7 separate regions of the Homo sapiens genome follow, and all the other regions are linked to region 1. Evidence: promoter capture Hi-C in 16 types of primary human blood cells and fetal thymus (Javierre and others, 2016). All regions are on one chromosome and are shown on one strand. Each heading gives the region's core, a stretch centred on a gene start or on the middle of the fragment in contact. The rest is flanking DNA. Distances are from core to core; before and after follow the strand shown. Region 1 holds the start of AP4E1 (adaptor related protein complex 4 subunit epsilon 1). Region 2 overlaps USP8 (ubiquitin specific peptidase 8). Region 3 overlaps USP50 (ubiquitin specific peptidase 50). Region 4 overlaps TRPM7 (transient receptor potential cation channel subfamily M member 7). Region 5 overlaps TRPM7 (transient receptor potential cation channel subfamily M member 7). Region 6 overlaps TRPM7 (transient receptor potential cation channel subfamily M member 7). Region 7 overlaps TRPM7 (transient receptor potential cation channel subfamily M member 7).

Region 1 (3,682 bases), core at 690-3,189:
GCAGGTTCTCTCCGGATAGCATCAACTTATTAGAGCTGCCAAAAAAATATTTTTTTTAAACCTTCAGAGCACTTTCTTTTCTGTCTTTCCTTCTCTTTTAGCACTTCTATTGCATTGTAGTCATGCTTATACTTGTCTTAAGCCCAAAACGAATGACTAATTCCTTGGGAAAAGGGAATGTGTTTAATTCTATTTTCCTGTGTCTAACACATAACCTTGTTCCATAAACATCTGTTGAACAAATAATGACATTAACACGTGCTCTTTTTAAGATATAAACTCCTTGTAGCTGTGAATCGGTATACTACACAATCCGTGCAACCATCGAGCGCCTGTGGGGGCCCGGCGCGGTGGCTCATGCCTGTAATCCCAGCACTTTGGGAGGCCGAAGTGAGCGAACACTTGAGGTCAGTTCAAGACCAGCCTGCCCAACATGGTGAAATCCTGTCTCTACTAAAAATACAAAAATTAGCCGGGCGTAGTGGCATACGCCTATAATCCCAGCTACTTGGGAGGCTGAGGCAGGAGAATCGCTTGAACCCGGGAGGCAGACGCTCCAGTGAGCCAAGATCGCACCATCGCACTCCAGCCTGGGCGACAGAGCGAGACTCCGTCATTAAAAATTTAAAAATTTTAAGGCCGGGCAGGGTAGCTCACGCACGTAATCCCAACACTTTGGGACGCCAAGGCGGGCGGATCGCGAGGTCAGGAGATCGAGACCATCCTCGCTAACACGGTGAAACCCCGTCTCTACGAAAAGTACAAAAAATTAGCCAGGCAGTGGCGGGCACTTGTAGTCCCAGCTACTCGGGAAGCTGAGGCAGGAGAATGGCGTGAACCCGGAAGGCGGAGCTTGTAGTGAGCCCAGATCGCGCCACTGCACTCCAGCCTGCGCGACAGAGCGAGACTCCGTCTCAAAAAAAAACAAAAATTAAAATTTTTAAAACCTTAAGGCTCCAGCGAGCCGAGATCGAGATCGCACCATTGCACTCCAGCCTGGGCGACAGAGAGAGACTCCGTCAATAAAAATTTAAAAATTTTAAAAGTTTAAGAATTTTTATAACTGCTCATTTTCAAAGCCCACTTGAGGCAGAGACTTAGCAAATTTTACATTTTGAGAGAACTGTGCTTTTTCTTTGCCCAACACGTTGTTGTAACCCAAGAACCTCAAGCTCCCCAAAGATATTCAACAAGAGGCTCACAGGATCTCTTCAGGTATGCGACATCTGAACTGTTGTTCAGTTGAAGGCACCGGGGGAGAGAAGGAAACTGAGTAGGGAAAAAAAACTTTGTGGAAGGTAAATAATGTCTGACACTTCCATCGCACTAGGTATTTTCACACGCTTGACATCTCACCCAATCCTCAAAACAAACAAAAAACCTATGAATTATGTATCAGTACTTTTCCACCACAACGTTGAGAAAACACACGGAGGCTCAGAGGTTACAGAGATGTGCCCCCGATCAAAGAGTCAGTGTCAGAACTAACTGTGGAAACTCGGCTTCCCTGCTGTCAGTCCCAGCAGGAAAGTGAAGCTTCCAGGCAGACGAAAGGACGAACCGACACAGCAGCCCCTGAGCCCCGCCGGAGGGCTAACCCCAGAGGCCCTGAAGTCTCGCCGCCCGGCCAGGGCCTCCTGGCGCGGGGGCCTCACTCCGATGTCCCTGAGCTCCCGGGCCGGCGGGCACCTACGTGCTTGGAGGTGAGGGCTGTGATGCCGCGGACAAGGCTGCCCAGCCTCGAGGAGAAGGACGCCTTGGCGGCCGCGGGCCCACCACCGGGCTGGTTCTGCAGAAAGAGTCCCGGCAGCGCCGTCAGCGTCTTCTCCACTATGTCGCTCATCGCCGCCGCCGCCCGCGATGCCGCCGCCGCCCGCGATCCCGTAGCCGCCCGGCTTCATGCCCGGCCGCCGCTGCCGGCCCGGCCTCCGTAGGCACTTCCTGTTTTTTGAATAAGAAATCTTTATTGGCGTCCCACCTGAACAAGTTCAGCGTCGTTCTCGCGAGAGGCCACCAGAGGGCGCAAGAGACCGCGGGGGTGGAAAAGGCCGCTCGCTCGAGATTGCGCGCGTAAGTAGACCTCCTTTCTCGCGACGGGGTAGCGGTTCCGGAATCCCCCAGAACCGTGAGTCCTCCTGAGGAAGCCGTCGGGGGCCTGGCCCTGTTAGGCACTGTCTCCCAGAGTCCCCCTTTCCCACTAGCCGCCTCCGCGTAGCCCGAGACCGCGTCAGGAGTTGCGTCTTCCTGGCTGCGCCTTTTTCGGGACGTCCCCGCGCCGTCCGCCGCCTCTCACTGTCCCCGGAGCGCGCGCCACCCGCCCGCTTCCCACAGGCGGTTTCACGCGGGTCCCCGGCGCCGCGCGCGGCTCCGGCCCTGGCGACTCTTGGGACACCCGAGTAGTTGCGTGATAGCGGGGCTGTCCTGAGGATTCGGCGTGCCAGGTTGAGAGCCCGTCGCGTGCCGGGGACTCGCGGCCACTGTCGCTTCCCGTCCGCCCCTCTTCTCCTGGGATTTGGGGAGGTGGGCGGGAAAGAGAACTGGTCGGCGGCCACCCTTGCCGACTCCTCCTCAGCAGGTCGCAGTTGAAAGGTCATCCTTCTAGAGCCCACTCCCCTGGCCCGGCGGGCAAGGATAGGTCTCCAAGTCCCACCCTCTCACAGCGCTCGGTTCTGTTCCACTTTAGAACAGGTCGCAGTTGCCACTACGTAAACAGCTCCCCATAGAGAGAGTATTTTATTCATTCCGATTGCTCCGTCTTTTATCTAGAACAGAGTCTGGTACAATGGCTCTCGAAATGTGGTCTGGTGACCTCAGGGTCGCTGAGACCCTTCTAGGGAATTCACAAAGTCAAAACAACATTGATAACGTTTCTTACGTGTTATTTGCCGTTTTTACCCTCATTCTGTTGGAAATGTACAGAGTTTTCAAGCGGCTAGATGACGATTGACTAGCTGGTAAAATGTATCCTGGAGTATCCTTGTGTTTTCTAGAATTTTCTAAGGTAGTAGGTTTAGGGCATAAATACGTGCGTTTTCAGAGATTAATGCAATTTGCTCTCAGTACTCCTAGTGTGTTTCTAGGAGGTAGGTTAGGTAGGTGGTGATAGCCTCCCTTCAAGGGGAACAAACTTGCTAAATAAATAGAACAAACCAGCCCATAGTGTACAAACCACATCCGAGGCTCCTGGTTAGAAAATTTTGCAGCAAAGAGGTACGAGAGCAGAAGGGAAAATCCCCAAACTCTCACAAGCGCAGAAACCCATGATCAGTGTCGTTGGGCTGAATTATACTCATTATAATAGTAAAAAAAAAAAAAAAAAAAAAACACCACTCCTGGGTGAAGATTTAAGATACTAATAAGACATGCAGTGTATGTACTAGCATATACAACCACAGCGCACATGGCGACAGAAAACCAGAGAACGTGCTTAATAGCAGCACCCGTTCTCCCCGCTTCATGAATGATCCTGTGAGACTCCTACAAAGGGAGTTTCCCCAGTGTCAGTGCATGCTGTCTCACCTTTGAGCAGCCCGCTCTGATCAGCTGTGAGGGTGTACTTTCGCTTTGCAATAAACTCTTTTGCTTGCTTTTACTTTGGACTTCAAAATTATTTTGCACCGCGAAGTCCAGAACCTCAACCGGCCCACCAGCTACAGCTACACTTACAAGCTATCTTCGGTTA
Region 2 (3,682 bases), core at 570-3,069, 410 kb after region 1:
CATACTGTGACAAGTCAAGATTTTCTAACGGGAAGTCCACAGATGTCTGTAATTTTTGTTTCCACCTGCCATCGTAGGAAAAACTGCAGAACAAAACATTACAATTACACTGACAGAGGAAGATACCAGGATGAATCCTCATTCATTAACATCTAGATTTTTAGCCAGGACTGTAAAATCCATTTCAAATACAAAGACTTGGAATTTTAGTAGTAGAGGAACCTGTTAAAGACATTTGGCTTCATTTCCATTTTACAAACAAGAAAACTGAGGCATATGGATATTTAATGATGTGCCTAAGGTCAAACAGCCAGAATGGTAGAGGTAGGACTATACTCTGGTCCAGCTACAACTGCTACATGAGTCTTCTAGGAAGGTAAGACCCACATGTTTATAATGCTGACCACCACAAAAGAAAGAATGACAGCTGCTCTCGAGTCAAGCTTGTACTTCAGAGAAAACTAGAGCCAGAAATTGAGAGTAGGAGACTACTGACTAAAATAATGTCATTCATTCCATTATTCTGGCATATTCTGCTCCTTTAAACATCAAAACAATGATATCTTGGTTGGTGTAATATGGTTATTTCATAATTTTGAAAATATTCAGCATTAAAAATTTTAGCAAATGTGTAATCACTTATAGAATGTTTATACTTCCAGAATCCTCAACTAGGACAATGGAAAAAACTAGCTTTTGTTAGAAAAATTTACACAAGAGAAATCTGAACATGTAAATTTGGAAATTAATATATGGAACTAAGAATCTCAATACAAGATAAAACATTTTTAACAGAAATGCTTTTTTGACACAAAAATTACAGCTCTCAATAAAAAAGTGCAACTTCCTTTAAAAAGTTTTTCAAATAATCAACTCAAAGTTCTTGAGTTACATGGATTATGTGATTATGTGAAGACCAAAGAATCAGCAAAAGATCTGGTTCGTGTTTTATAACTCTTGTCATTATTCCTTCTATTATAGGACTAGATCTTTTCCATCAATTGGAAAAATCTGGATGAAATTATTTCTGCACTTAATGGTATCGTTAACATATTTTATCATTAAAATACTTTAAAAATTATAAATTTTATTTAACACATAACTAAGTCTGTTATGCTTTAGTCTGCTGTTTGAATGTTACATTTCATGTGCTAATTTGTTTGAATTATACTGTAATATTTTTATACATTTTCACTTGATGCTTTGTAATTATTTAAAATTATAAGGAATTACATGAAATAGTGGTATTGTCATTTTGCTGTGGTACTGAAAACACTGAGGTGAACTAACAGTCTCATTTCTGCTTTATTTCCCTAGATCTACTGTAACCAGATAATCGCCCTTTGTTATGTGCCCATGGCAGGCAGTACAACAAGTATAAATTACACAGAACTTAAAATTCCCTCATTTAATTTCACTGAACAGGAGGACAAACTTTCCCCTTTACCGTTTCAGATGCACTAAAAGCACAGGTGGTAACTTCCAGATTTCTATCTTTTTTAGAGAATCCCGTCGAGCTCTGCAATGACTGCAGTAAAATCTGTTGTTATCTGTGAGTTTTTCTTCTTTGGAAAATAATCTAAGGCAATCCTGGCAGAAAAAAACAAGTAGCAGATACTCGTTAATTCGATTCTTCAATAATGTCAGAGAGCACCTATTTAGTTAGTCACTCTGCAGGCACCAGTGATTCAACAGCAATCTACACAAAAGAGTTCCTGCCTTCCCAAAGCTTGTGATCTAGTGAGAAGCATAGACAAGTGAACAATGACAGCACAGAGTGTGGTGAGTGCTACCTACAGTGTGTTGTGACAGGACACAGGAAAGCCCCTAACCTGGTCAATCAGAGAAACCCTGTTGGAGGAAATGACATTCTGGAGGTACTTTAAGACTAAAGGTATCAACAAGCTTTTATATAAGAAACATTGTTGATACATGGAAAACAGGATATTTATTTGATATCCCCATGTAAAGCAAATGCTTATGAAAAGTAGGCCTAAGTTAGTCAACAGACAACTTTCCAAATTAACTTATAAAACTTTTTAAAAACATACTAACAATCCTGAAATCCTGAAAGAATATTTAATAAAGGTATCTTTAAAAAAGAAATTTCTAATTCTTTCTAATCTACATAGGCCTAATTATAAAACAGAATTTATATTGAGTTTTACTGATAAAAGGTTTTTTTTTTTTTTTTTTTTAAGACGGAGTCTTGTTCTGTCCCCTAGGCTGGAGTGCAGTGGCGAGATCTCAGCTCACTGTAAACTCCGCCTCCAGGGTTCACGCCATTCTCCTGCCTCAGCCTCCTGAGTAGCGGGGACTACAGGTGCCCACCACCACGCCCGGCTAATTTTTTGTATTTTTAGTAGAGATGGGGTTTCACCGTGTTATCCAGGATGGTCTCGATCTCCTGACCTCGTGATCCGCCCACCTCGGCCTCCCAAAGTGCTGGGAGTACAAGGTATGAGCCACTGCGCCCGGCCGAGTTTTACTGATAAAATGTTTGTAAGGGTAAAGACCAGAAATTTACATCTCTATATCCATAAAAACAGCATTTTTATCCAATAAATCATTTTCTCTCTACTTCTTAAACTTACCTGTAATGTACATTTACTTGTGGATGCTAGTGGTAGAGACAAATACATGAAGGCCTCAAATGTCCTAGACTTTTTGTGACATGTGAGGCACTGTACTGTAGATTTGAATTGACCCTGAAAAAGTGCAACAATAATAGACTCATTGAGCTGCTTGTGTTTCTGCCAGGCATGTTCTGCAGCTTTAAAGTCATCGAGATGATCATTATTTTCTTCTTTATATCTCTTCCGATTATCAGCCTGGAAATAAAATGATTTAAGCTCTATATTAATATCTCAAAGAAAACATTTAAATTGAAAGAATAAAAGTGAATACAAACACTTGCCAGATTTAGAAACACCTGTAGTTCTCATAAAGGAGTTCTGATCTCACTGAGTGTGGCAAAAAATAATTCTAGCCAAAAATACCAAAAAAAACTCACTCACTTTATTGAAGGAATGTGACTTGTTGAAATTTCCCAAATTTTTATTTAAAAAGCTGAAAAGGGCCAGATGTGGTGGTTCATGCTTGTAATCCCAGCATTCTGGGAAGCCAAGGCAGGAGGACTGCTTGGGGCCAGGAGTTCGAGACCAACTTGTGCAACATAGTGAGACCCCCCCCTCCAATCTCTACTAAAAAAAGAAAAAGCTAAAAAGTTTGGTTTTTAGAAAAGATATCCCACATATAGCTGGGAATTAGGGCTACAACTGGACATATATAATTTTGTTGCCCTAGCCTCTCTCTCTCTATATATGTATATATGTATGTGTATATATATGTGTATATATGTATGTATATATACACGTATATATGTATATATGTATGTGTATATATATGTGTATATATGTATGTATATATACACGTATATATATATACACAAATATTTTTGTGTAGGTGTGTGTGTATATATATATATATCTGTTCAGTGGTTAAGAATGGTGACCCCAAAATATGTGAGACAAAAAGTGCTAAAAAGAAGTTGTAGTATGTAAATGGAGGGTGGTCATTTATGTATACATACATGCCTTTATAATAACTAGTCACATGAGTCATTTGGTTACATGGAGTAATTTTTTTTTTTTTTTTTTTTAGAAAGAGTCTCACTCTGTCG
Region 3 (3,682 bases), core at 673-3,172, 370 kb after region 1:
GTTAAAGTCTTTGGCGTATTTTAAAAATTGGGTTGTTGGTTTTCTTTTCTTTTCTTTTTCTGTCTTTTTTTTTTTTTTTTTTTTTTTTTTTGAGACAGTCTCACTCTGTTGCCAGGCTGGAGTGCAGTGATGTGATCTCAGCTCACTGCAACCTCCACCTCCCAGGTTCAAGCAATTCTTCTGCCTCAGCCTCCCAAGTAGCTGGGACTACAGGTGCACGCCACCGCACCCAGCTAATTTTTTTTGTATTTTTGGTAAACATGGGGTTTCACCATGTTGGCCACGATGGTCTGATCTCTTGACCTCATGATCCACCCACCTCGGTCTCCCAAAGTTTTGGGATTATAGGCATGAGCCCCCACGCCTGGCCAGGTTGTTGGTTTTCTAATTGCTGAGTTTTAAGACCCTTCCCTTCCCTTCCCTTCCCTTCCCTTCCCTTCCCTTCCCTTCCCTTCCCTCCCCTTCCCTCCCCTCCCCTCCCCTCCCCTCCCTCCCCTCCCCTCTTTTCTTCAGTCTCTTGCTTTGTCACCCAGGCTGGAGTGCAGTGGTGAAATCTTGGTTCTTGCAGCCTCCACTTCCCTAGTTCAAGCCATTCTCCTGCCTCAGCCTCCAGAGTAGCTGGGACTACAGGCACCCGCCACCACGCCCAGCTAATTCTTATTTTTTTTGGTAGAGACAGGTTTTCACCATGTTGCCCAGGCTGGTCTTGAACTCCTGAGCTCAGGCGATCTGCCCACCTCGGTCTCCCAAAGTGCTTGGATTATAGGCATGAGCCACTGTGCCTGGCCAAGTTTCTTGTATATTTTCAATAGCAGTTCTTTACCAGATGTGTCTTTTTTTTTTTTTAGTCCATGGCTTGTTTTTTATTCTCTTGACAGTGTTTTGTAGAGCAGAAAATTTTGACTGTAATGGAGTCCAGCTTATCAATTCTTTTGTAAAGCAGGCCTTTCGTGTTGTAGCTAAAAAGTCATTGCCAAACACAAGATTATCTAGATTTTCTCCAGTGTTATCTTCCAGGAGTTTTGTAGTTTTCTGTTTTACATTTTGGTCTGTGATCCATTTTGAGTTAATTTTTGTGAAGGGTGTAAGGTTTGTGTGTGGATTCTTCTTCTTCTTCTTTTTTTTTTCGCGTGGATATCCAGTTGTCCTAGCACCATTTGTTGAAAAAGGTCATCTTTTCTCCATTGTATTACCTTTGTTCCTTTGTCAATGATCAGTTGATTATATCTTTGTGGGTCCCTTTCTGAGCTCTCTTGTCTATACCATTATTTTTCTATTTTTTTCACCAATACCACATTGTCTTGATTATTCTGGTTTTAAAATAAGTTTTGAAGTTTGGTAATGTCAGTCCAATTATGTTTTCCTTCAGTATAGTTTTGGCTACTCTGGATCTTTTACCTCACCCCATAAACTTTAGAATCATTTTGTCAATATCCACAAAATAAGTTGCTGGGATTTTGATTGGGATTGCATTGTATTTACAGATCAAGTTGGGAAGAACTGACATCTTGACAATATTGAAGCTTCTTATCCATGAATATAGAATATATCTCTCTATTTAGGTTCCTCTTGGATTTCTTTCATGAGAATTTTCTAGTTTTCCTTCTATAGGTCTTGTACATATTTTGTTAATTTTATAACTAAGTATTTCATTTTTGAGGGTGCTAATGTGAATGGTATTGTGTTTTTTTTTAATTCATTTTAAATTAAATTAAAATTTTTTTGAGATGGAGTCTTGCTCTGTTGTCCAGGCTGGAATGCAGTGGCACGATCTCGGCTCACTGCAGTCTCTGCCTCCCAGGTTCAAGTGATTCTCCAGTCTCAGCCTCCTGAGTAGCTGGGATTATAGGCATGCACCACCATACCCGACTAGTTTTTGTATTTTCAGTAGAGACAGGGTTTCGTCATGTTGGCCAGGCTGGTCTTGAACTCCTGACCTCAGGTGATCCACCCACCTTGGCCTCCCAAAGTGCTGGGATTACAGGTGTGAGCCACCATGCCCAGCCATATTTTTAATTTTGAATTCCATTTGTTCAAAGCTGATGTGTAATATACTTTTTGTATATGAATCTTGTATCCTACAATCTTGCTATAATTGTTTATTATTTCCAAGAGGTTTTTTTGTTGATTCCTTCAGATTTTCAACATATACAATCATGTCATCTGTAGACAAAGACGGTTTTATTTCTTACTTCCCTGTCTCTATACCTGTTATTTTCTTGTCTTTCTTATTGCATTAGCTAGGTCTTCTAATACAATGTTGAAAAGTAGTGGTGAGGGGACATCCTTGCCTTGCTCCTGACTGTAGTGGGAAAGCTTCTAGTTACTCACCATTAAGTATGATGTTACTGTAGATTATTTGTAGACATTCTTTATTAAGTTGAAGAAGTTCTCCTCTATTCTTAGTTTACTGAGAGTTTTTATCATGATGGGTATTGGATTTTGTCAGACACTTTTTCTGTGTCTGTTGATTTGATTGTGTGTGTGATTTTTTTTCCTTTAACCTAATTATGTGATAGATTTCATTAATTTTTCCAATGTAGGACCAGCTTTGCATACCTGGGATAAAGGTATGTAGCTAGGACCATGCCCAGCTAATTTTTAAAATTTTTTTGTAGAGTTGATGTCTCACTATGTTGCCTAGGCTGGTCTTGAACTCCTGGGCTCAAGAGATTCTCCCACCTTGGCTTCCCAAAGTGCTGGAATTACAGGCGTGAGCCACTGTGCCCAGCCCATTTTGAAATTTCTTTCAAGCTATCTTCTTTGACTTGTGTTATTTAGAAGTGTGTTGCTTAATCTCCATGTATTTGGGGATTTCCTAATTATCTTTCTGTTATTTCTAGTTTAATTCCATTGTGGTCTGAGAGCAGAGATTGTATGATTTCTATTATTTTAAATTTGTTAAAGTGTGTTTTAACAAGCACACCTTAGGCCAGAAGGTCTAACTTACCCTTATTTAGCCTAGCTAGAGGCTTGGTGAATGTTCCATGTGAGCTTGAGAATAATATATATTCTGCTGTTGTTGGGTGAAAGAGTCTACAGATGTCAATTACATCTATGGACAGATGGTGTCGTTGAGTTTAACTATGTCCTTACTAATTTTTTGCCTGCTGGATCTGTCCATTTCTGACAGAGGTGTGTTGATATCTCCAACTATAAAAGTGATTCATCTATTTCTCCTTGCACTTCTATCAATTTTTGTGTGTGTGTGTGTGTGTGTGTGTGTGTGACAGAGTTTCACTCTGTTGCCCAGGCTGGAGTGCAGTGGTGCCGTCTTGGCTCACTGCAAACTCTGCCTCCTGGGTTTAAGCAATTCTTGTGTCTCAGCCTCCAGTAGCTGGGATTACAGGTGCGTGCCACCACACCTGGCTGGTTTTTGTATTTTTAGTAGAGACAGGGTTTAGCCATGTTGGCCAGGCTGGGCTTGAACTCCTGACTTCAAGTGGCCCGCCCACCTCGGCCTCCCAAAATGCTGGGATTACAGGCATGAGCCACGGTACCCAGCCAGTTTTTCCTCATGTATTTTGACCCTTTGTTGTTAGGTGCATATATGTTAATAATTTCTATGTCTTCTTGAAAAAGTGATCCCTTTATCATTATGTATGGCCCTTTTTATCCTCAATCACTTTGCTTTGAAGACTGCTCTGTCTGAAATTAATATAGCTACTCCCACTTTCTTAGT
Region 4 (3,682 bases), core at 584-3,083, 350 kb after region 1:
ACCTCTTGCTCTGTTGCCCAGGCTGGAGTGTAGTAGCGTGATCATAGCTCACTGCAGCCGTAAACTCCTGGGCTCAAGCAATCCTCCTGCCACTGCCTCTTGATTAGGTGGAACCACAGGCATGCACCACCACACGTACCTAATTTTATATATATATTTTTTTATTTTTCATTTTTATTTATTTTTGTTTTTTTGAGTTGAAGTCTCACTCTGTTGCCCAGGCCGGAGTACAGTGGCACAATCTTGGCTCACTGCAACCTCTGCCTCCCAAGATCAAGCAATTCTCGTGCTTCAGCCTCCAAAGTAGCTGAGATTACAGGTACCCACCATAATGCCTGGCTGATTTTTGTATTTTTCGTAGAGACAAGGTTTCACCTTGTTGGCCAGGCTGATCTCAAACTCCTGACCTCAAGTGATCCACCTCCCCCGGCTACCCAAAGTACTGGGATTATAGGTGTGAGCCACCATGCCTGGGTAACACCCAACTAATTTTAAATATATATTTTGTAGAGATGGGGTCTAGCCTTGTTGCCCACGCTGGTCTCAAATTCCTGGGCTCAAGTGATCCTCTCGCCTGAGCTTCCCAAAGTGGTAGAATTGCAGGCATGAATTGCTGCACCCAGCCTCATCTGTGCTGTGAATTATGTGCTGTATTGACTCTCAAGCATGATGACCATTGGTGGTTTCTGTACCATTTCCTGTTACTTTACTGAAACACACCTACTCCATTAACTTCTTGGGTTAAGTCTAGAAAGTAACAGTTTACTTGTAAACCACATTTCTTATCCCCAATAAGTATTTTTTTAAGATTATTAAAGTTCATTATTACTACCCTATGATGTGAAAGTGTCATTTGCTTAATCTTTTTAATTTTTTATTCTCAACCTCATCTTACTGAAGAGAATAAAACTCTTTTACCATATTCTTAAAATGTGGAATTCTCGGCCAGGTGCAGTGGCTCACGCCTGTAATTCCATCACTTTGGGAGGCCAAGGTGGGTGGATCATCTGAGGTCAGGAGTTCAAGACCAGCCTGGCCAACATGGTGAAACCCCGTCTCTACTAAAAATACAAAAATTATCTGGGTGTGGTGGCGCGTGCCTGTAGGCCCAGCTACTCAGGAGGCTGAGGCAGGAGAATTGCTTGAACCCAAGAGGTGGAGGTTGCAGTGAGCCTAGATTGCTGCCACTGCACTCCAGCCTGGGTGACAGCAGAACTCTGTCTCAAAAAAAAGATGTGGAATTCTTTTCTGCAAATGTTCTCTAATAGTATACCTTCTTCAGTCTGTCGATATATGTATGCTATTATTTTACAAGTAATACATGTTGATTGTATTGGAAATTATAGAAAAGATTATATTGGATTGTTTAGAAAATATTTTTAAATGTGAAGAAAAATATAAAAATTACTCCCTTGTTCCACTTTCCCCACTCTCAAGTCAGACTATGTTGTTTTCATAGTTAGTAGCTAGCAGTCTACCCCACTAGATTATATGCTTCACAGAGGGAAGGGACCCTCAAGACTTCACTGGATTGAGTAGCACCCAATACCTTGCTTGCTGCCTGGTTTGTGATGGGCATACTGTAAGAAAAAAAAATCTGAATGACAAAATGTTTTTCCATAATACCAGACTTCCTCTTGAAGAGATGGGTCGTAATGTTGTAGTCTTACATGCTTACGTAGACAATCAAAGCAAGAATACTCAATAAATGGCTATTTACCACTTGAAAGAAAGATCAAGTAATTATTTACAGAAAATGATGTGTCTACACAACAGGGATTTTTGAATTTCTCCTTATTTACCATATCTGATCTTATTGCTTCCTAGCTGGGTTTCAACAAGGCATCTGTATTTAAAGGTCCCAAATGATCTGTGAGCTTTTTCTTAGGAAAATTCCAGGCTAAGGCTCTGGTCCTCTCTAGAATATGATTTTCTAACTTCTTTGGAAACTCCTTAAAGCAGATTTCCATTCCTGGGGCCCATGATTCCACATTGGTGGGCATGAAGATGGGAGAGGATGTGGTTATTCTTCAGAAAAGCCACACACTTCAGGCTAACAGTAAATAGCACCAGTGAACAGAGCACTTTCTTCTTGTGCTGTCCAAACCAACATTAGGCTCTCTCCTTGTATTTCCCTTGGAATTTCTGTGTAATCCTGCATTACAGAATTTTTCTTTCATTTTAATTATGTCAGTATATGTTTCTTAAAGATTAAGAACTATAACATTATTACACCTGAAAGTTTAACCAAAAATATTGTCAAATATGTAATCATTGCTCTAAAAAAAATTTGTTTTAAGTAATTTAATTAGGACACAGAAGGTCCATACATTGCAGTTCCTTGCTAGTTTTGTTTTGTTTTTATTGGAGGCAGAGTCTTGCTCTGTTGCCCAGGCTGAAGTACAGTGGAGTGATAACCTTCGCTTCCAGGTTCAAATGATTCTCCTGCCTCAGCCTCCGAAGTAGCTGGGTCTACAGGCACATGCTGCCACACCAGGCTAATTTTTGTATTTTTAGTAGGGACGGTGTTTCACCATGTTGGCCAGGCTGGTCTCGAACTCCTGACCTCAAGTGATCCACCTGCTTCCGCCTTCACCTCCCAAAGTGCTGGGATTATAGGCGTGAGCCATTGAACCCAGCCAACAATTGCTTGTTTTTAAAGTCTCTTAGTATGTAGGTTCTCTGTCTCATCTTTGCCCCCTGCTTATGTTTTAAAGAACCAACTTACTTGTCCTGAAAAGTTTACTACATTTGAGATTTTGCTGATTGTTTCCTGCATATGTCATAAACTAGTGGTTAGTTAGGTCTAAAGGCTTGATCAGATTCAGTATTGAATTTTTGGTAAGAATGCTTCATTGGTGGGGGTATATAATTCTGTTAGGAAACACATGCCTGGTTGTCTTTTTGATAGTCATTGCCTAGGTCTATTATTAATTAGGTCAGTGGTGCTCATGGTGGGTCACAGACCCCTGAGAGTCTCCCCAGGACAATTTCAAGGTGTACATAACATAAGGTCAAAACTTATAATACTAAGATATTATTCGCCTTTTTCGCTGTATTGAGAGTTTTATTGATGGAGTAAAAGCAGTGATGGGTAAAACTGCCAGAACCTTACCATGAATCAAGTGAAAATTGGAATTTTGGAAAACTTGACTTTAACACCAGTAGCACTACAGCTTCCTAATACTTTCCTAATGAAATCAGTAGTGTTGATATTAAAACTTGTTTTTTGGTTTTTGGTTTTTTTTGAGACGGAGTTTTGCTCTTGTTGCCCAGGCTGGAGTGCAGTGGCGTGATCTCCACTCACTGCAAACCCCGCCTCCCAGGTTCAAGTGATTCTCCTGCCTCAGCCTCCCAAGTAGCTAGGAGTACAGGCATGAGCCACCACGCCCGGCTAATTTTTGTGCTTTTAGTAGAGACGGGGTTTCACCATGTTGGCCAGGCTGGTCATGAACTCCTGACCTCAGGTGATCCACCCGCCTCGGCCTCCCAAAGCGCTGGGATTACAGGCATGAGCCACCGCACCAGGCCAAAAATGATTTTATTTAGATAGTGTATAATGAGATGTGTCAGTGTTTCGAAGATCTGCATAACTAAACCAGTATTTTCGGAATGACCAATGCATAGTATTACAAAATAATGCATGAGTGAAAGATCTAACATAGTAGAAAAGGTTTGTTTA
Region 5 (3,682 bases), core at 815-3,314, 330 kb after region 1:
GCAGAAGGATTGTTTGAGCGCAGGAGTAGTGAGCCATGATTGCACCACTTCACTCCAGCCTGGGCAACAGCGAGACCTAGTCTCAAAACAAATAATTTTTTTTAAAAAAGAAAATAAATAAATCTGAATATATAAAGAAGAAAATAAACCTGGGCCACAGGATAAGCAGCTGCTCAAATTGAGTTTCCTGACCCTGGAATGGCATTTGGAAGGCCCACCTATAGTCAGACCTCTTCAAGGAATATTTTCTTTTATAACCAAAGCCATGGGATGTAAGTACAAAATAGGCACTTCAAGTTGGTGTTAATTCCGGTGTCTAACAACAGAACATTGTCTTGCAGAATGCTGACCCTGAGAATTACCCATAAAGGTGGAGCTGATTGGCAGCCCTTTGAGTGCTGAGAAAAGAGTGATTGATTAGCAGCAGGCAAAGGAATGATGTTAGGTTCAAAATACTTTTTGTAAGAAAATGTTTCTATTAAGGTGAAAATCAACAGGAAACAACAGGGTCAGATAGAATGTAGGAGCTGGAAAGAGACAGGTTATCTACTCCCAAGGTCCTTTCTGGATCTGGTCCTTTCATTCCTGAGCAAGGCTACATAGCTGTGTAATGAAAGTGCTAAGCCTCTAACCCGTTTTCCTTTATTCTCATTCTGTTCTCTTTTCCACTCTACCTGTGTGTCTAGTTGACACTGGAATCCTTGGAAGTAAAAGAACCTGCATTTGGTGCCAGTGTATGTTGTTATAAATAAATACAGTTAACATTGGGAGAAATATTTTTCAACATTAGAAACTAAGAGGCAAAATGACATCTACTTACTTTTCTCTCAGTTCTTTGTCCATCAATTCTATTGAAATATTTCTAGCATCCTGCAAAGTCATCTCAATGTATTGTTACAGTACTGGAATGAATCTCCACGAATACAGAAGTTATGAAATAGTTTATTAGTATAGAGCCTTCAATTTGGCACCAAACTGCTAATAATATTTATGCATAAATTGGAGATACAAGTTATTAATAAGTAGATACATATGGATATATATATATAGATATATATATCTATATATGGATTGGGATTGGCTTAAGGGAAATGGCAAATATTCAAAGGGAATCAATTTCAGAATTTCCTTAATAATATTTTTTATATAATAATTGTATAAAATCAAAAAATTAAATGATAGCCAAAACTTAAATCATAGCACAGCTTATACTATATTTTTTGGTGTTTCTTTAGGCCATCTGAAGAAGGAACATTAAATGGTGAGTCTGTGTGGTAGATTGAACGTGAAAAAAATGAGAATCTTACATGATCTGTTACAGCAAACACCACATTATTCTAGGTAAGATATTTTAGACTTCAAGCTAGAAAAAGCCAAGGTATTGAAGAGTTCTTCCCTCATATACTTTCTCCTTACTGTAGATGTTTCACAAACACACGAATCACCCTGTGAATGATGATATCTTTACTGTCACACTTCCTCCCTGCTACTTGGTCTCTGCTATACAGCCTGCTCCTTTTCTAATATTCCATCTGTTTTAACAAATGAAACTTTTAGTCAGCTGAGTTATTCTTGACCACCTTGACTTTGTACTCACAAAGTCCTATTGCATTTACTTCCTACATGTCTCTAAAATCCATCCTCCACTATACATCCCACTGCTGCTTTCAGCTTAGACCATTACTTTGTCAACCTTTTATCGAAGTGTATAGTGCATACAGAATAGTGCAGAATTCAGTGAATTCTTTCAAAGTAAGTATAGCCATGTAATCAGCACCTAAAAACAATTTTGCCTATATCTCCATTCCTTTGTTTCTACTTCTTATAGTCCCTGCCCCTAAAACAATAGTTTCACCTATTTTGGGGTGTATGTGCGTGTGTGAGTGTTTGCATGTATGTGCATATTGGCTATATAAATGAAATTGTACAGTATATACTGTTCTGTGTCTTGCTTCTTCTTCTTAACATATTGTTATAAAATTCATCAATATTGCTGTGGATAGTGGTAATTTGTGCATTCTCACTACTATATAAAATTTTCTTATGTAAATATATTGAATTTACTTCCATTCTGCTATTTGGTGGTCATTTCAGTAGCTTCCACTGTATGGCTATTATGACTTGCTGCTACAAGCATTCTTGTTCATGTTGTTTGATAAACATATGTATTTATTTATTATTGGCATATGCCTAGGAGTGGAATTGCTGAGTCAGAGTTAGCATGTGTTCACATTTGGTAATTACTACCAAATAGGTTTTCAGAGTGGTTATACCAGTTTGGGGTCCCTGCCTGTAGTTTTGCTTCTCATCAATGTTCTATTCTGCCACCCTTCCCTGCCCCCGGGTGAGAAGGAGTCTTGCTCTGTCGTCCAGGCTGGAGTAGGGAGTATAGTGGTGTGATCTTGGCTCACTGCAACCTCCGCCTCCCAGGTTCAAGCAGTTCTCCTGCCTCAGCCTCCCGAGTAGCTGGGATTACAGGCATGCACCACCACATCCGGCTAATTTCTGTGTTTCTGTAGAGACGAGATTTCACCACGTTGGCCAGGCTGGTCTCTAACTCCTGACCTCATGATCTGCCCACCTCCACCTCCCAAAGTGCTGAGATTACAGGCGAGAGCCACCGCACCTGGCCTGATTTTTCTAAAGGTCACTCCTCCACTTTACATTTTTTCCCCATTGTTGTTTAATGAAATCCAGTGTTCTTCCTTAACATGACATATTAGGCTTTTAATTACCCCCCCACACACACTTTAGGCTCTTAATTCCACGCCTCCCGCCCCCTCCCCTGCCAAAGACAGGATCTCTCTGTCACCAGGTTGGAGTGCAGTGGCACAGACTTTGCTCACTGCAGCCTCAACCTCCTAGGCTCAAGCATTCCTCCCACCTCTGCCTTCTGAGTGGCTAGGACTACAGGTGGGTGCCACCTTGCTCAGCTAATTTTAAAAATCTTTTTTGTTGATAATGGGGCCTTGCCATGTTATCCAGGCTGGTCTTGAACTCCTGGCCCCAAAGCAGTCTTTCCACCTCAGCCTCCCAAAGTGTTAATGATGATAGGTGTGAGCCACTGTGCCTGGCCTCCTCTTAACAATTTGATATTCCCTGTTTCTGTAGCTTCACCTCCTGCAGTTATCCCTGTACTCTTGCCCATTAATTTGTAGTCTTAGCTGCATATTCAAATCATTTGTAGAGAATCATTTCTATGATGACACATACCTACAGAATTAGAATATTTTGGAGTGACATCTGGGTGGATGTATGTCCAAAAAGCACTATAGGTCAATCTTCCCCCTTCTCTTACTCTGAGATAGCTTTGACGTCTTCTCAACCAAAAGGCATTAGGTACTCCTATATAGTCGTACAGTATGTGCACACATGTATGTGTATATACACATTTTTAAAGTATATTTTTATACAGTATTAAAACTGTTGGCTAACTTCCTTTTCCTGCAAGACAGTAGGTTTCTTTTTATTTGTGTTCTAGAAACTTAGCACATAGCAGATTTGACTTGTCTTTGTCTTCTTGCAACATTTAAAGGTCAATTCCACACACACACACAAAAAGATGGGGGAAGGGCTTTTGATGGGTATGTTTCACATTCCAGAAGTTCATCTTCTCATGGTAGACCTGCTAAAATATTTACATGGCTACAGTCCCCAACCCCCAAACATCAGAATCAAAGAG
Region 6 (3,682 bases), core at 823-3,322, 310 kb after region 1:
CCTGGCTGTCTGCTATTTTTCTAATGATATGACTCTAATTGTGTAGTTGTTATAAAGCATTGAGTATAGTTTTTTAGTTTCCTGCATTCTCTTTCTTGGGTATTTGCTTCCGCAAACTAATCTGAATAGAATGGAAATAGATTCATAAAATTATTTAAGAGTGAAAAGACCTTACCATTAATTTGCCCGTAAAACCATTTAAAGGAATCATAGAACCGTATGAATGTCATTGATGCATATACTTTTTAAAAATTACCAAATACTAAATGCTAAGTGTACTATAAATATTTAGCTAGAACTTATCACTAATTCATCATTATTTAATTCTAATCCTCGCCCTGCCTAATTTACTTTATTCCTTGTAATGCTGTTGGGGGTATTAAAGCTCTTCCTTTCCTTGTTTGTAATTAGCTATGTTCTGGCTTCAGAAATTTTTCAGTTAGGGGTAATGAAAAACAAGGAATTCAAATCTAATCACGGTATAATTGAGAAGCACTTTTAGCTATTTCTTCAGCCCCATTTTTGTGACATAATAAGATAAACTCAATATTCTTTATTAAATGTATATGTTTTGCTATGAGTCAACCATACTCTTAAAGTTGAGTCATGCGTATAATCCCAGCACTTTGGGAGGCTGAGGCTGACAGATCACGAGGTCAGGAGTTCGAGACCAGCCTGGCCAACATGATGAAATCCGGTCTCTACTAAAAATGCAAAATTAGCTGGGCATGGTGGCGCATGCCTGTTGTCCCAGCTATTCGGGCGGCTGAGGCAGGAGAATTGCTTTAACCCAGGAGCCGGAGGTTGCAGTGAGCCGAGATCGCGCCACTGCACTCCAGCCTGGGTGACAGAGCAAGACTCCGTCTCAGGGGAAAAAAAAAGTTTGGACATTTTTCTTACAGAAATATTATCATATGGTTGATCCAGGAATTTTACCCTCTTTAGTGCTCGTCAGGTTAAACCCTGCCTCGAAGGGTAAATATAACACCTAAATATACTTTCTTTTCTGGAATAGAGTTGTAAAACAGATAGCACCCACATTTCTCACAACATCTTTTTGTGTTTGAACACTCTTAAGCTGGGGTTCCTATGTCTCCTTGCCCAGATGCTTTTGCTGGAATCTGTGAAACAGATTTGTACATAATCGAAACTTACTTTAAGTAAATAAATAACCAGAAACACTCATGAATAGCAGTTACTGATGAATTACTATTTTTAAGTTGTTTTTGTTTTTTTCTTTTTTTCTCTCTAAAGTGTGTGCAAATGATTCTGTTATCCCTCAAATCTGTGGTCCTGGGACGTGGTTGACTCCATTTCTTCAAGCAGTCTACCTCTTTGTACAGTATATCATTATGGTTAATCTTCTTATTGCATTTTTCAAGTAAGAATTTTGTTCAATTGTTTGTTATAAGATGATTTAATATGCAATTCTACATATTTTGAAGGAAATTTATAGAACTTAAAATCTAAAAATTTTATTGAGGCTTAAACTACTAAAATTATATTTGAAAAATTACAAATAGGAGATGCTTTTTCTAATCAAATGAGTTCTAAATTTTAAGTTTGATTATCTTTCAACCTGCAGTTTTCTTTATAAATTTAATCGTTATCTGGGATTTTTCCTCGGTTGCCAACAAATACGCATTCAATATAGAAAATTCATCAGTAATTCCACTGTTAATATTTGGGTGTACACCTTTCTATCATTTTTTTTGCAAATATATGTAAACCATTTTTCTTTTCAGAAATAGTATTTTTATTTAATTTATTTATTTTTGAGACACAGTCTCCCTCTGTCACCCAGGTTGGAGTGGCACAATCTTGGCTCACTGCAACCTTAGTTTTCAGGGTTCAAGGGATTCTCATGCCTCAGCCTCTTGAGTAGCTGGGATTACAGGTGTGCACCACAACGCCTGGCTGATTTTTTTTGTATTTTTAGTAGAGATGAGGTTTCACCATGTTGGCCGGGCTGGACTCAAACTCCTGGCCTCATGTGATCCATCCACTTCAGCTTCCCCAAGTGCTGGGATTACAGGCATGAGCCACAGTGCCTAGCCTATTTTTATATTTTATGTACTGTTTTATAACTAAGCAAAGCATCATGAACATTATTTCAGATAAACAAATATTCTTCTCCAGTCTATTTTTAATGGCTACCTGATACTCCATGATATAGACCATAATTTTTCAATCTAGTATGTTGTATTGGTCAATTAGATTGTAATTCTTGCTCCTAAACACCACATTGTAGTTAAATCTGTGAGCAATACTTGCTTGTTTAGAATGTTTTTCTAAAAGCAGGGCTGTTCAGTATATGTACTTTTAGGGCTTTTGCACTTAAGTCTAAATAGGCCTGTTTCCTCAACTCGGCCCACACTGAGTATTTTTTTTTTAATGGTTGCCAATTTGATAGTAAATAAAATTATTTTATTTTATTTTTTGAGACAGCCTGTTGCCCAGGCTGGAGTGCAGTGGCACTATCACAGCTCACTGTAGCCTCTTCCATCTGGGCTCAAGTAGTCCCTCCTGTCTCACCTCCAGAGTAGCTGGGACTATAGGCATACACCATCACGCCTGGCTAACTTTTTTGTTTTTAAATAGACAGGGTCTCACTATGGTGCCCAGGCTCGTCTTGAACTCCAGGCCTCAAGCACTCCTCCTGCCTCTTGGCCTTCCAAAGTGCTAAGATTATAGACATGAACCACCATGCCCAGCCAGGATTTTGTTTTTTAAAATTTGCACTTACTTGATTACTAATAAGTCTGAGTATTTTCTTATGTCTTACCCATTTACATACAATATTTTAAATTTTTTTAAATTATTTTTTTCTGCTGAATGTTAGTCTTTGCCTTATACTTACTGCCTGTATCTTTTCTAGTTTCTCATTTGCTATTAGTTTTGTTTACAGAAGGATATTTTTTGAATTATTATTTAGTACAGAATTACAATGAAATCATCAGTATTTAAAACTTTAAGAGATGATTAACAAAGTTTATTTTATTTTTATTCATTATTTCTCTAGCAATGTGTATTTACAAGTGAAGGCAATTTCCAATATTGTATGGAAGTACCAGCGTTATCATTTTATTATGGCTTATCATGAGAAACCAGTTCTGCCTCCTCCACTTATCATTCTTAGCCATATAGTTTCTCTGTTTTGCTGCATATGTAAGAGAAGAAAGAAAGATAAGACTTCCGATGGACCAAGTAAGTAAACTATATTAAGGCAAATGTTTTCATTTTATCACTTCTCATTTTTACACCAAAGGCTATATATTGATTTTATTCAAAAATGACTTAGTGGATTAATGTTATGGTAGATTTTTGTTAAATATGCCTGTACATAAAGGAATTTTTAAGTGCAATATGATATCTATAAAAATGGATTTAGCATTAAACTTCGTTATGAGAATGGCGTCTCTGTTTCTGTTAAAATGGTAATGTAAACCGAACTTCTTTGTTGTTCTACAAACCATTTTTACAGCTCTGTAAACAATAACAATTTTAGTACATTCTGTGTACATGAGACTAATCATACTGTGTCAAATTATGCTTAAAATTTTACAGGGACTTTCAAATTAGTTCTTAAATTTCTCTGAGTAGATACGTGAGGGAGAGGTATGAGAGAGATAGCGGAGGGATGTTGTATAGGAAAAGGAAATCAGAAGAGGAGGAGGAAGTA
Region 7 (3,682 bases), core at 371-2,870, 290 kb after region 1:
TGATCTCTTGACCTCGTGATCTGCCCGCCTCAGCCTCCCAAAGCACTGGGATTACAGGCGTGAGCCACTGCACCCGGCCAAAAATGCAAACTTTTTTAAAAAAAAGCATTTGCTATTTTCACAGTGCTGGTCTGTTTTGCTTCCAACTAATAACCCATTTATTGAAATTTTATTAATTGCTTAGGACTTAGCTTAAATGCCATGCCACTGGTTCCATGAAGCTTGGTGGCATAGTTAAGTACAATTATTATGTCTTTCCCTTTGGATTGTAAATTTCTTTGAAGTAGGTATTATATCTCATTTTCTCCCTTTTTTTTCTTTTTTTGAGAAAGAATCTCACTCTGTTGCCCAAGCTGGAGCGCAGTGGCACGATCTGGGCTCACTGCAACCTCTGCCTTCCGGGTTCAAGCAATTTTCCTGCCTCAGCCTCCTGAGTAGCTGGGATTACAGGTGCATGCCACCATGCCCAGCTAATTTTTGTATTTTTAGTGGAGATGGGGTTTCGCCATGTTGGCCAGGCTGGTCTTGAACTCCCGACTTCAGATGATCCGCCTGCCTCAGCCTCCCAAAGTTCTGGGATTACAGGCGTGAGCCACTGGGCCCAGCTTCCATTATTTTCTTTTAGTATGTGTAGCACATTTGCGTTGAACTTTGTTGGCATTTTACTGTCCCTAGTGGACAGATGTAAAAATTAAAAGGATTATTCATTGTGCTGTAGTAAGGTTTATACCTGAACTATAAAGCAATGTAAAATAATAAAAATAAAAATTGATCCCATTAGCAAGACAAGTAATTTTTTAAATTGTATGACTCAAAGGTGTTAAGATAATACTGTAGTTACTTTCAGCATCAATTATTGATGAAGTTTTAAAACATTTAAGGGCTTGCAACATGATAAAGCAGTAGTTCTCAAACTTTTTGATTTTCAGGGTTCCTTTACATTAAAATTATTGAGAACTTCAAAGAGCTTTTCTAAAGAGGTTTTGTTTGTGTGTGTTGGTATTTTAGAATGTAAAAATGAGAGTTTTAAAAAATATTTGTTTTTATTAAAGTAGCAGTTATATTTACTTAAAATTTCTAAACTTATCCCATATTAACATAAATATTTGTTCTTATTTCTTTTTTCTTAAATTAGCACCCTTCTGCCTGATACTTTTTTTTTGTTTTGTTTTGTTTTTTTGAGACGCAGTTTTGCTCTTGTCATCCAGGCTGGAGAGCAGTGGCACAATCTTGGCTCAATGCGACCTCCACCTCCCAGGTTCAAGCGATTCTCCTGCCTCAGCCTCCCAAGTTGCTGGGATTATAGATGCCCACCACCACGCCCAGCTAATTTCTGTATTTTTAGTAGTGATGAGGTTTCACCGTGTTGGCCAGGTTGGTCTTGAACTCCTGACCTAAGGTGATCCACTGCCTCGACCTCCCAAAGTGCTGGGATTACAAGCATGAGCCACCGCACCCAGCCTGCTATGTTTTTATTTTTAAAGAAAACAAAAAAATTGGTGAGAAGAGGAAAACACGTTTGCAAATGTCTTTAAAGTCTAGCCTTATAAAAGCAGCTGGATTCTCGTATTTGCTTCTGAATTCAATCTCACAATATCACACATCAAAAAGCCTCTGGAAAACTCCACCAAACACTGAGAGAATAAGAATGAAATAATACAATTTTAATATGATTAGGAAAAAAGTCTTGATCTTGTGGAACTCCTGAAGGAATCATGGGGGCCTCAGGTGTCCCCAGGTCACACTTTGAGAATTACTGTGTTAAAGTACATTTATTATTTATTAACAATTTATTTTTAATGGATAAACATTTAATAGAGTAGGATAAAATAGAATTTAAGAAATTTTAAGTGCCTTTCCATGTGATTACATACCGTTAGAGAAAAATGCAATGAAATTCCCCAATACCCCCAAAATATGAGATACGTCTTATTAACTTAGAAGAAACTTTTATTTTAAAAAGTTCACCTGTGGGGGAGAATTGGCAGAGAGAACTTAGCCCCTGAGTTGATCGACTAAATAAATAGGTTTTTTTTTTTTTTTTTTTTTTTTTGAGACGGAGTCTCGCTGTTGCCCAGGCTGGAGTGCAGTGGCGCGATCTTGGCTCACTGCAGGCTCCGCCCCCAGGGGTTCACGGCATTCTCCTGCCTCAGCCTCCCGAGTAGCTGGGACTACAGGCGCCCGCCACCATGCCCGGCTAATTTTTTGTATTTTTAGTAGAGACGGGGTTTCACCGTGTTAGCCAGGATGGAATTTTTTAAATTTTTTACTTTTTTGGGGGATGGAGTTTCACTCTTGTTGCTGAGACTGGAGTGCAATGACGCGATCTCGGCTTACCGCAACCTCCGCCTCCCGGGTTCAAGCGATTCTTCTACCTCAGCCTCCCGAGTACCTGGAATTAAAGGCATGTGCCACCACACCCGGCTAATTTTGTGTTTTTTTAGTAGAGACGGGGTTTCTGCGTGTTGGTCAGGCTGGTCTCGAACTCCTGACCTCAGGTGATCCACCCGCTTCTGCCTCCCAAAGTGCTGGGATTATAGGCTTGAGCCACCGCGCCCAGCCCTAAATAAATATTGTAAAAAGAAGGCAGAGCAAAGTAAAGTAAAATATGATTCATATGCAATATCAATTGTAGTCATCTTAAATATTATATAGAATTTGAAAGCCAAGAATATCAAAGAAAATAACTTTTTCTCCAAAGAAATAATGGTAGGTGGCCCACTCTAACAGTATATATAAAGAGAAGTAAGATAATGGCAAAATTATGGCATATATAAATGTTAAATCAGGGATGTCCAATCTTTTGGCTTTCCTGGGCCACATTGGAAGAAAAATTGTCTTGGGCCACACATAAAATACACTAACACTAACGATAGCTGATGAGCTTAAAAAAAAAAAAATTGAAAAAAATTGAAAAAAAAACTCTATGTTTTAAGAAAGTTTACAAATTTGTCTTGGGCCATATTCAAAGCCATCTTGGGCTGCATGCAGCCCGTGGGTTACAGGTTGAACAAGCTTGTGTTAAAGTCTTGTTACCCAAAATATTTAAAGTCTCAATATGACTTTATTAGTGACAGAAACAGAGGAACAGACATTTTAACAAGAAGAAAGGTATTGTACAGCGCCATTATCAATGAAAGAAATGTAAATTTAAATTTAAGATACAATTGTAAAGTTGCAGTGATGACTTTTGTGAAACAAAAACTTATGTATCATTTTAGTGATACTCTTAAGATTATTTGTTTTTTGGCAGTAAATGTGAAAATTCTTTGTTGTTCTACTTTATGAATAGAACTTAAGGAAATAACTCCAAAACAATGTAATTTGTATAAGAAGGTTCATAAAAATCCTGTAAGGTTTAAATTAGTTTAGAAGAAAAATAATAGTTTGCTGTAACTTTTTCTCCCTAAAGAAACAAGGTCCAACTAATCCAATGCTGTTTCATCTTGTTCGAGACGTCAAACAGGTAAGAGATTATTTTTTGCTTTTGAAAAATGTTATTTTAAAAAATCATTTATATTTCATGTTTTTTAAAAAAAAAATCATTTAAATACATTTTAGAAATACCAATAAAATTACAGTTTACAGAACAAGATAAAATATGGGCTGAATTTGTGGTAAGAGAGGAGTAAAGAGCATAATGTATCAGAAAACAAGAAAAAAAGAGAGTTTATGGAATTAA

What was found. The method cuts DNA at HindIII sites, captures the fragments that hold promoters and counts their contacts. A CHiCAGO score of 5 or more calls a contact.
Region 2: a contact is called between a fragment that was not itself captured here and the fragment with the promoter of AP4E1 in region 1, in 6 of 17 cell types (endothelial precursors, megakaryocytes, non-activated CD4 T cells and 3 more). The highest score is 6.8, in endothelial precursors.
Region 3: a fragment that was not itself captured here is called in contact with the fragment with the promoter of AP4E1 in region 1 in 1 of 17 cell types (erythroblasts); the score reaches 6.0 in erythroblasts.
Region 4: a contact is called between a fragment that was not itself captured here and the fragment with the promoter of AP4E1 in region 1, in 1 of 17 cell types (endothelial precursors). The highest score is 5.1, in endothelial precursors.
Region 5: a fragment that was not itself captured here is called in contact with the fragment with the promoter of AP4E1 in region 1 in 2 of 17 cell types (activated CD4 T cells and naive CD8 T cells); the score reaches 5.9 in activated CD4 T cells.
Region 6: a fragment that was not itself captured here is called in contact with the fragment with the promoter of AP4E1 in region 1 in 1 of 17 cell types (erythroblasts); the score reaches 5.1 in erythroblasts.
Region 7: a fragment that was not itself captured here is called in contact with the fragment with the promoter of AP4E1 in region 1 in 5 of 17 cell types (erythroblasts, naive CD4 T cells, activated CD4 T cells and 2 more); the score reaches 6.7 in erythroblasts.

The regions. Positions count from the first base shown.
Region 1 is chr15:50,906,940-50,910,621 of GRCh38, reverse strand. AP4E1 (adaptor related protein complex 4 subunit epsilon 1) reads right to left here and starts at 1,939. Exons shown (of 21, transcript NM_007347.5): 1 at 1,694-1,939. The coding sequence starts at 1,843. RefSeq lists enhancers at 863-1,604, 1,651-1,820, 1,841-2,130, 1,605-2,346. The HindIII fragment of the contact is 3,809 bases long and covers 1,539-3,682 here.
Region 2 is chr15:50,494,997-50,498,678 of GRCh38, reverse strand. USP8 (ubiquitin specific peptidase 8) reads right to left here. Exons shown (of 20, transcript NM_005154.5): 17 at 2,595-2,831; 18 at 1,448-1,590; 19 at 1-83. It also overlaps a transcript of USP50 not described here. Among named protein-coding and RNA genes, the nearest start is that of USP50, 50 kb to the left of the region's middle. The HindIII fragment of the contact is 176 bases long and covers 1,732-1,907 here.
Region 3 is chr15:50,534,683-50,538,364 of GRCh38, reverse strand. All of the region lies in intron 5 of USP50 (ubiquitin specific peptidase 50), which reads left to right. Among named protein-coding and RNA genes, the nearest start is that of USP50, 10 kb to the left of the region's middle. The HindIII fragment of the contact is 793 bases long and covers 1,526-2,318 here.
Region 4 is chr15:50,555,205-50,558,886 of GRCh38, reverse strand. TRPM7 (transient receptor potential cation channel subfamily M member 7) reads left to right here. Exons shown (of 39, transcript NM_017672.6): 39 at 1-1,729. Among named protein-coding and RNA genes, the nearest start is that of USP50, 10 kb to the right of the region's middle. The HindIII fragment of the contact is 6,844 bases long and covers 1-3,682 here.
Region 5 is chr15:50,576,218-50,579,899 of GRCh38, reverse strand. TRPM7 (transient receptor potential cation channel subfamily M member 7) reads left to right here. Exons shown (of 39, transcript NM_017672.6): 31 at 1,236-1,261. Among named protein-coding and RNA genes, the nearest start is that of USP50, 31 kb to the right of the region's middle. The HindIII fragment of the contact is 6,054 bases long and covers 1-3,682 here.
Region 6 is chr15:50,593,954-50,597,635 of GRCh38, reverse strand. It overlaps TRPM7 (transient receptor potential cation channel subfamily M member 7), which reads left to right. Exons shown (of 39, transcript NM_017672.6): 23 at 1,255-1,381; 24 at 3,023-3,207. Among named protein-coding and RNA genes, the nearest start is that of USP50, 49 kb to the right of the region's middle. The HindIII fragment of the contact is 5,842 bases long and covers 1-3,682 here.
Region 7 is chr15:50,619,529-50,623,210 of GRCh38, reverse strand. It overlaps TRPM7 (transient receptor potential cation channel subfamily M member 7), which reads left to right. Exons shown (of 39, transcript NM_017672.6): 13 at 3,413-3,466. Among named protein-coding and RNA genes, the nearest start is that of TRPM7, 65 kb to the left of the region's middle. The HindIII fragment of the contact is 2,794 bases long and covers 224-3,017 here.